Linked DNA regions of Homo sapiens: regions 1 and 3 are each linked to region 2. The links are contacts of gene promoters, found by promoter capture Hi-C in blood cells and fetal thymus (Javierre and others, 2016). All regions are on one chromosome and are shown on one strand. Each heading gives the region's core, a stretch centred on a gene start or on the middle of the fragment in contact. The rest is flanking DNA. Distances are from core to core; before and after follow the strand shown. Region 1 has its middle 190 kb from the start of ADO. Region 2 holds the start of REEP3 (receptor accessory protein 3). Region 3 overlaps EGR2 (early growth response 2).

The links. The method cuts DNA at HindIII sites, captures the fragments that hold promoters and counts their contacts. A CHiCAGO score of 5 or more calls a contact.
Region 1: a contact is called between a fragment that was not itself captured here and the fragment with the promoter of REEP3 in region 2, in 1 of 17 cell types (neutrophils). The highest score is 5.5, in neutrophils.
Region 3: a fragment that was not itself captured here is called in contact with the fragment with the promoter of REEP3 in region 2 in 3 of 17 cell types (fetal thymus, erythroblasts and neutrophils); the score reaches 7.3 in fetal thymus.

Annotation. Positions count from the first base shown.
Region 1 is chr10:62,613,327-62,616,026 of GRCh38, forward strand. No RefSeq gene overlaps it. Among named protein-coding and RNA genes, the nearest start is that of ADO, 190 kb to the right of the region's middle. The HindIII fragment of the contact is 1,913 bases long and covers 304-2,216 here.
Region 2 is chr10:63,520,053-63,522,752 of GRCh38, forward strand. REEP3 (receptor accessory protein 3) reads left to right here and starts at 1,349. Exons shown (of 8, transcript NM_001001330.3): 1 at 1,349-1,525. The coding sequence starts at 1,494. It also overlaps a transcript of JMJD1C not described here. RefSeq lists an enhancer at 545-594 and a silencer at 985-2,034. The HindIII fragment of the contact is 3,716 bases long and covers 1-2,570 here.
Region 3 is chr10:62,812,107-62,814,806 of GRCh38, forward strand. It overlaps EGR2 (early growth response 2), which reads right to left. Exons shown (of 2, transcript NM_000399.5): 2 at 1-2,362. The coding sequence ends at 1,101. Among named protein-coding and RNA genes, the nearest start is that of EGR2, 2.9 kb to the right of the region's middle. The HindIII fragment of the contact is 7,552 bases long and covers 1-2,700 here.

The DNA of each region.
Region 1 (2,700 bases), core at 10-2,509, 910 kb before region 2:
ACCCAAGGCTGGGCCTGACTCCCTAGCTGAGGAGTCTCAATATAGGGTGTGGGACTGGGAAGGAGATGTCCCAAGAATGTAGCGAGGCTCCTAATGTCACGTAGTGACCAACATGTTCTTTTTGAATTGGGGATGGGGCGGGGGGAGATGGTTCAACTGTACACATCAAGAATGGACTCTTTTCCCTTTCTCTTAGCTCCTAAGCATTGCTAAGCTGAGTGGTCGCAGCTGGAATAAGTAAGCTCTGGCTGGAAACTCCCCCGAGGAATCTCTCCTCCCTGCTGTTCTTCCCCACCCCCAGAAAGCTTCGTTTCATGTCTAAAAGCTCAAAGATGTGCTGAGTCATACTGTACAAATAGCAGTGGACTAGGGAATTATAAAATGTCGCTTCCTTTCTTTCTTGGACATTTATTTATTGAGTACCTACTATGTGCCATGCCCTATGCTAAGCCCCAGAGAGAGAATGAAAAATGCAACATAATCCCTACATATGGTAGTTACTTTCTTACCCAATATCAATTCTCCCCTTCTTCCTAACAATCCAAATCCTGATTGTATTTGGAATTTCAATTCATTCAAGTCATCAAATATATCTCCCATTCTCTTTGCCACTAGGGATATCTATCCAGTCCCATTCTGACCAAAGAGAGAGAAGCAAGAGTCACTAAGTGCAGCTTCCAGGAAAGCTCTGTAGAAGGAGCAGGCTTCATTAGTGAATACCTTATTAACTTCCCTTTTTCCAGTCTGGAAGTTGGATATAGAGAAAGAACAGTCATTTTGTGACCACTGGGTGACAAGCATGAAGAAAACAGCCACAAATTAAAGAGAGCTGAGCAGAAATCTACATGGAAACAGGGGCCCTAATGATTAATCATATTATAGAGTTATCACGGCAACCTTGGCTATCTAAAAAAAATTAGTCCCCTAATTTGTCTAAGATATTGATCAACTGGGCTTTTGGTTACTTGCAGCTGAACACAATCCTAACTGCCACTTGACTACCCATGGCCTAGGGGAGTAAACAGATTTCTAAGATATGATGCCTTCCAGGTTGATAAGCAGTTATGTGAACAGAGCACAGAATGGATAGATCTGCTTTGATGGAGGAGAAACAACTGGTCAAAAAGGGTTTCGGAAAGGAAGAGATGCTTGAGTTGGGTCTTGGAGGATGAGTCATTCCCCAGCCACGAAGGAGTAGAAATGGCATCCAGGTTGACAGGACATACACGCAAAGACAAGAGAAGTGAAATAACGTGGCACACTCAATAATGTCGCTGAAATGACTTCATCTGACTGGGAAGAGGATGCTTGTGGGATGAGGTGGGGGATGACATCGAAGAGGGTAGAAGCCAGGTCATAAAAAGACTTGTGGGATCTTGGACAAGTCACAAAGCCAGTTCACCTCCAGTTTCCTCAGCTATAAAGAGAGGGGGTTCACTGAGAGGAGGGGGTAGCTCTGACCAGGGGGCTGCTCTGCAACCATCCCTTGCGGAACACTGGTTGGAGGCTCTGGCTCCTTTGCAAGACCCGGAAGTTTCCACAGGAAGTGCTGTCCTGCCTGGCCCGCCTCCCTTGGTTTCACACTGCATGGTGTAGTCCAAGGACTGCACTGGCATTTCAGTTTGAACACTAAGCGGTGACTCAGAACCAACAGAAGTGTGGACAACTGTTTACTAAGAAGGCAGCCTTTGGTGTGACAAATTAGAGTGGGCTGCTGGATTGTGCAGCACTCATGAGCTAGGCAGCTTGGAAATAGCACATACCATCGCATTGGGCAGTTGATTCATTTCTTGTCCTGTCTTGCCAGGCAGGGCATCACATGCCAACCCAGTCAGACCCACCATCTATATCCAGGCCAGGGGAAGTGTTCTTTTTTTCTTTTTCTTTTTCTGGATGATGCCTTAAGTACTCTGAGATTTGTACCAGCATCCCTTGTTTGTTTTTTAAAATAACTCTATTATCCAGGAATATGACACTTTCTACTATTCATATGTTTAGTTTCCTTAACCTCTTGGAGCCAAAAGATTGCAGTCTATAGAGAGGACCATAAAGTTTTAGAGTCATGAATTAGCTTCTAGATCATCAAGCAATGTCAGCACTTCAATTCGCAGAATATTAAAAACCAACAAATATATATGGATATGCTAGGTATAAGGAAGTGTGATGGGCTAGATACTGTAAGAGAACAGATAACAAGGAGGTGATTCCTGGCCTTAAGCTTAGACTAACCTTTAGAGGCTAGTTTAAGCTTACACTCTAGATTGCGAGGCCAGGAAAGCCACGTGGCAGACAGATCAGGATTTGAACTCTGGCTCTAGGGATGATGACAATGGGTGCAACTTGGACTCATTCTCTTAATCTTTTCCAGTTTCTCTTTACTCATCCACAAAACAGGGATAATAGTACCTGCCTCCCATGGCAGATGTGAGAATTAGAGATCATGTGTGTAACAGCTACAGTGTGCAGTGGAGAGTAGTTAGTTGCTCAGCAAATGATGGTTATTCCTATTATCATTAAGTTAGAAAGCTAAATAATTTGAAGCAATTATAAAAGATACGTTGAATGACAGTCCAAAATACTTGCTGAATTCATGGTTTGAAGTGTCAGGGACTTTCTTACCTATACATCTTTCCTGTGGTTCTCACTAGAGACCTGGGAAAAATAACCCCATTTGTAGATGAGAACACTGAGGATGGAGAG
Region 2 (2,700 bases), core at 99-2,598:
ATTAATAAGCGAAAAGAACCTAACCCAAGAGTAGAAAGTAGCTTCTGAGCTTGTTTCTTAAATAATGAAATATTACCCAATTTATTGACTGAGAACTGAAAATAATTTAGGATAATCTGTTGTGTCCTTTGATTGTCTTCCATGCAAGTCAGAGTATTTCCTAAACATATTATTTAGCAGTGCCTCATATCACCCTTGAAAGGCAAGAGACAGACTACAGTATTATTACCCCCTTTTTATCACAGGGAAACTGAGGAACAAGAAGACAAAATTACAGTATGGTCACAAAAGCCATCATATTTTCTAGGACTTTAATTAAAGGCTCCAAGCCTACATTTCATCTTTTATTCTTCGCACCATCTGAATACTAGAATTATCTTTTACTATCGTCTTAACTGGAAAAAATAAAAATATCTAAACTTTAACATCATTTTCTCAATTTGGTACTGTCACAAAAAAAAAAAAAAAACAGTTTTAAAAGTCTGCCCTTGAAATGATATTTGCAAGAACAGCAAGGTGTAAGCAGTAACCCAACCTCCAAAAAATACAGTTGTAAATCTTACAGCTGTAATATAGTTGTAAATCTTAAGACAGGTCAGGAATCCTAGACCCAGCCTTTACTTTGAACATCTGGCAGGCCTCAGGGAAATAATGGAGATTCGTGTCTGTAAACAGTCTTTGCAGATGCTCTGATGAAAAGGTGCCCTAAGAGGCCCAGAACAGTGGTATCACTGCACCCACTACTGCAAACATGAAATCCTCCTCTGTCCCTCCCTGCATTGCACCACGAGACTCGTGGCACACACGGAGGCCTGTGCAAGAACCTCTCGACGATTCCTTTAAAATGTGGTAATATAAGGACGCCTTTGGTGCTGGGCCTCCGTAAACACTGAGGATACCGGATGTGGCCAGGCACACCTCAAAGTCTTGGCTCTCCAAAACCAGGGCCTGGTCGAGAGTTTTATTGGACACCGAGTTCCTGCGAATATCTCACTTTTCACACAGGCACTGCCAATCCCTACCCTCCAGTACCCTTCCTCAGCCTCCTGCCCCACTCTCGCCGCGAGTGTGGGCGTCCCAAAGAGCTAAGGAGGGTAAGGTTGGTTAGAGCGCAGGGGCCAAGGCCGCGGCAGCGAGGCCGTCCAGCGCGGGCTAGGATCCCGCCAGCCCAGCCCTGGAGCCCGGCCGCCTGGCCCCAGCCCTGGCCCGGGCCAACGCGCCGCCGCCACCGCCTATCAGCGGAGCGCAGGGGCGGGGTGCTGTCCGGACTAGGCTGCCGGGCCGGCGGGCGGGGGCGGGCGGGGACGGGCGGGGGACCGACCTCTGCGCAGCCCAGGCCGCCGCGCGCACACACCGGGCCCGGCTCCTGAGGGCGCCAGCGCGGCCCCGGGGAGCGCGAGGAGCCGGCGAAGCGCGCGGCCTGCCGTTGGCGGCCTGGTCCGCAGCGCCCTGCGCCCACCCGCCCCGGACGTGGGGCCCAAGCCCCCGTGAAGATGGTGTCCTGGATGATCTCCAGAGCCGTGGTGTAAGTGCCTCTCACTGCGCCCTGCAGCCGGCGCGAGGCCCAGGGGAGCTGTGGGAAGGGGAAGGAGCCGAGAGGAAAGGGAAGGCCTGGGCCTGGGCGGGGACGGGGTAGCCCGGCCTCGGGCCTGCCGAGGGTCTGGGGGAGCCCTCGGCTTCCTCACCTTGGTCCACGTCGCTGCGGAGCTCCCTGCGACGGCCGAGGGCCTAGCTGCGGCGACTGCGGCTGCGACGGCGGCGGCGGCTGTGGCGCTGCTCGGCTGCGTGCGGTGCGGCGCGGCGCCCCTGCTCCGGCGGCGCTGGGTGGGCAGGCGCTCAGGGCAGGCGGCGCGCGCTCCCCGCTCCTGCTCCCCGCGCAGCGCGGCACCGCCCTGCGGGCCCGGGAGCGGCGCGCCTCGCAGCTGCTCCCTGCGCAGGCTCCGCAGACGCCGAGCGCGGGAGGCTCCGCGATCCTCCCGAGGATGCGACGGCAGTGCCGAGCCTTTGTATCCCGCGGCTGATGCGTTGCGGTGTCTCTCTTGGCGGCTGATTGCCATTCGGTCACGTGTGGTAGGAGGAGAGATTTGTCTAAAAACCGGAGACCGCTCCCAGCCCAGGATCCCTGGGAAGGGTCCTAGTTTTCCCAAGATTTGCAGCTTACCGAGAAAGGTGACACCGGCTGCTCGCCCAGATCCCCGAATTCGGCCCTGTCTCGGCGGAAATATTTGCTAAGTGATTGAAAGGCTGCAGGTGCCTGTTGCCTTTGTTCAAATTATGGGTTCATTTCATTGTTCTCCTACCAACAAGTGCTACAGGTCTGTAAGAAAAAGAAATTCCTTGAGTTGGTGGTGTTAATCGTGTAAATGTATTTGAATACAGTTTAAACTGATTTTCTCTCATCTCCATTTTACCCCTCTCCCCGATTAAAAAAAAAGTCACCAAGTAAACAATGACGTAGTTACAGCTAGGGCCTATGAATTCATTATTCACCTCTGTAGTAGTGTTATCTCAGAAGGTTTCATAAAGGTATATGAAAAAATGTTTATGTGAGGGGGCAGGCTTCTCTGATAAGCTTTAGAATTTAGGAAAAATAACATTACCAGACTTTTTGTTAAAAGGAGCTAGATTTTCTGAGTTTGGGGTTTATTTTGTTTGGAAGTGAATTACTAGCCCTATTTAATCAGATTTGCAGCACAGCAT
Region 3 (2,700 bases), core at 133-2,632, 710 kb before region 2:
AATGACCAAACAAATCAGCTCCGGTAACATTATGTACATTCTTATCTGAAATTTGACTACAAAGGTAACACTTTTAAGTCACAAAACAAAGCATACAAAAATATACTTTCTAAAAAAAATTCCAAATATTAATAGGCAGAAATATACAGCCATACTAAACTCAGGGAGTGATTTTTTTTCTCCATAATAAGGCAACCCATTTACATGCAGACCTTGTAACATTGTCTACATCACACAAGGCACCAAGGACACTTCCAACACAATTGCATGCATCCTAGTTTCAGAGAATATATGTACATCCCCCTTAAATAAGTTAACCTCTGAGATCATAAATGCTTTACATTTTTTCCCAAAGATTCAGAATTTAGAGAACAGTGTACATCAAAAATACACAAAATCTGAGTGGATATACACTGAAAAAATAGCCTACATTTCTCAAACAACTCGAAAAGGAGCAGATATTGCTATGTTCCTCCCATCACATTGCACTTCTGTTCTCTGAGTTTATAATACATATTGCTTCAAGGGTTGAGACAACTAGATATGCTCTGATTCACCATTTTAGGGCCACAGAGTGTGGCATAAAGGCTATACTTCACTCACTGTACAATGTCCCCCAAATCAGTCCCAAGCCATAAAGTGCACATCAGTTTTGCTTGTCTTTTTGCTGTCCCCACTTGAAGGGATCAGCATCTCCCAACCTATTGTAGAAAACGTCTTAGATCAACTCTGACATCCAGGGTCAAAAACCTGTGATGGGTCAAAATAAGGGGAAGTGGGGTAGCAAAACCTAGTCAAACAACCCTTTAAAGCAGGGTCAGACCTCAGCCCTCTTGGCCAGGGGTCCCCACACCACCTCCTTCTGAGCCTCCCCTTTGCCTTGGGTTGATAGTCAACTCACCTAAGAGAGACTAGAATGGGCTAAGTTTTAGGAAGAACCTGCTTCTAGGTGGAAAGGGGGCAGTGCTAGCTCCACCAAAGCCCTTTGCCCAACAAAGGGAGAGAGGGACAGGAAAGGGTGGTAGTGTTTGTTGTGCAGCTCCAGTGGACAAAGGGCCTCCGGGACCTTTGGGAGCTGGTGTATCAGCCTGAGTCTCATCTCAAGGTGTCCGGGTCCGAGAGGAGCAAGGGGCGAGCGGCCCTCCGCCAAGACTGCTGCTGTTACTGCTGCACAGGGTACCCCCAGGCTGCACGCCCCCAGAGCAGGAGGCTGTAGAGGGGGCTGGCACCGATGCAGAGGGGGCACTGCTTTTCCGCTCTTTCTGTCTCAGGTGGATCTTGGTGTGGCGCTTCCTCTCATCACTCCGGGCAAACTTTCGGCCACAGTAGTCACAGGCGAAGGGCTTCTCACCGGTGTGGGTGCGGATATGGGTGGTGAGGTGGTCACTGCGGCTGAAGTTGCGCATGCAGATCCGACACTGGAAGGGCTTATGCCCAGTGTGGATTCGGATGTGCCGTGTCAGCTCGTCAGAGCGGGAGAACCGCCGGTCGCAGCCTTCTGCTGGGCACGGGTAGGGCCTCTCGTGCACCGGCGTCTTGCTGGGTCTGTTGGGGTACTTGCGAGGCCTCAGAATGGGCCGCAGTGGCAGGTGGTGTGGGTTATAGGCGGCGGCGGCGGCGGCTGCTGCTGCTGCTGAGCTGCTACCAGGCAGCCGGGGTCCCTCGCTGCCTCCACTGGCCCCTGGTCCGGTCACCCCAGCACTGGGGCCCCCCAGGGTAAAGTTACGGATTGTAGAGAGTGGAGTGAGTGGAGGGGGCACCCGCAGGGTGTCCAGTGGGCAGGGAAAGGGCTTACGGTCTGGGCCAGCTGTACCATGTAGGTCTCTCTGGCACTGAGATGGAAAGAATCCAGGATAGTCTGGGATCATTGGGAAGAGACCTGGGTCCGTGGCTGGCTTGGGGGATGGATAGGAAGGAGGTGGTGGGTAGGCCAGAGAGGAAGAGGTGGAGGTGGTGGCTGCTGACAGGAACGCAGAAGGGTCCTGGTAGAGGTCTCCTGCACAGCCAGAATAAGGAGGAGGAGGCGGTGGCGGAGAGTACAGGTGGTCCAGGTCAGGCTGGGTCTGGGACATGGTGCACACACCCAGGGGTCCTGTGGCCAGTGGGTTGGGGGAGGCAGAGGTGACGCTGGATGAGGCTGTGGTTGAAGCTGGGGAAGTGACCCCTTGCAAGATGCCTGCACTCACAATATTGATTATGCCTTCTGGGTAGCAGCTGGCACCAGGGTACTGAGGGTCAATGGAGAACTTGCCCATGTAAGTGAAGGTCTGGTTTCTAGGTGCAGAGACGGGAGCAAAGCTGCTGGGATATGGGAGATCCAACGACCTCTTCTCTCCAGTCATGTCAATGTTGATCATGCCATCTGGGGAGGGGAAAGGCAGAATGGAGGTGGAACAATGAAAATACAGCCAGGACTCCCTTCTCACCCCCGCTCACATAGGTCCATTTCCAAGGCCGAGAGTCTCAGCACTGTAGAGCTGTGGCAAAGTCCAAAAGGTGGGGAAATTGAGGCCCACAGACTGTAAGAAGAGGCCAGCCCAACTGTGGCAACCCATTGACAGTATGGAACTCAAGAACTACCTCCAAAAAAGCAGAATGAGCTTTTCCCAACTCCCCTCCACCCCCAGCCATCTGTGGCTCTAGTCCCCAATAAAAAACACCCAATAATAGCAACAACAATATTTTAAAAAGCCTCATCCG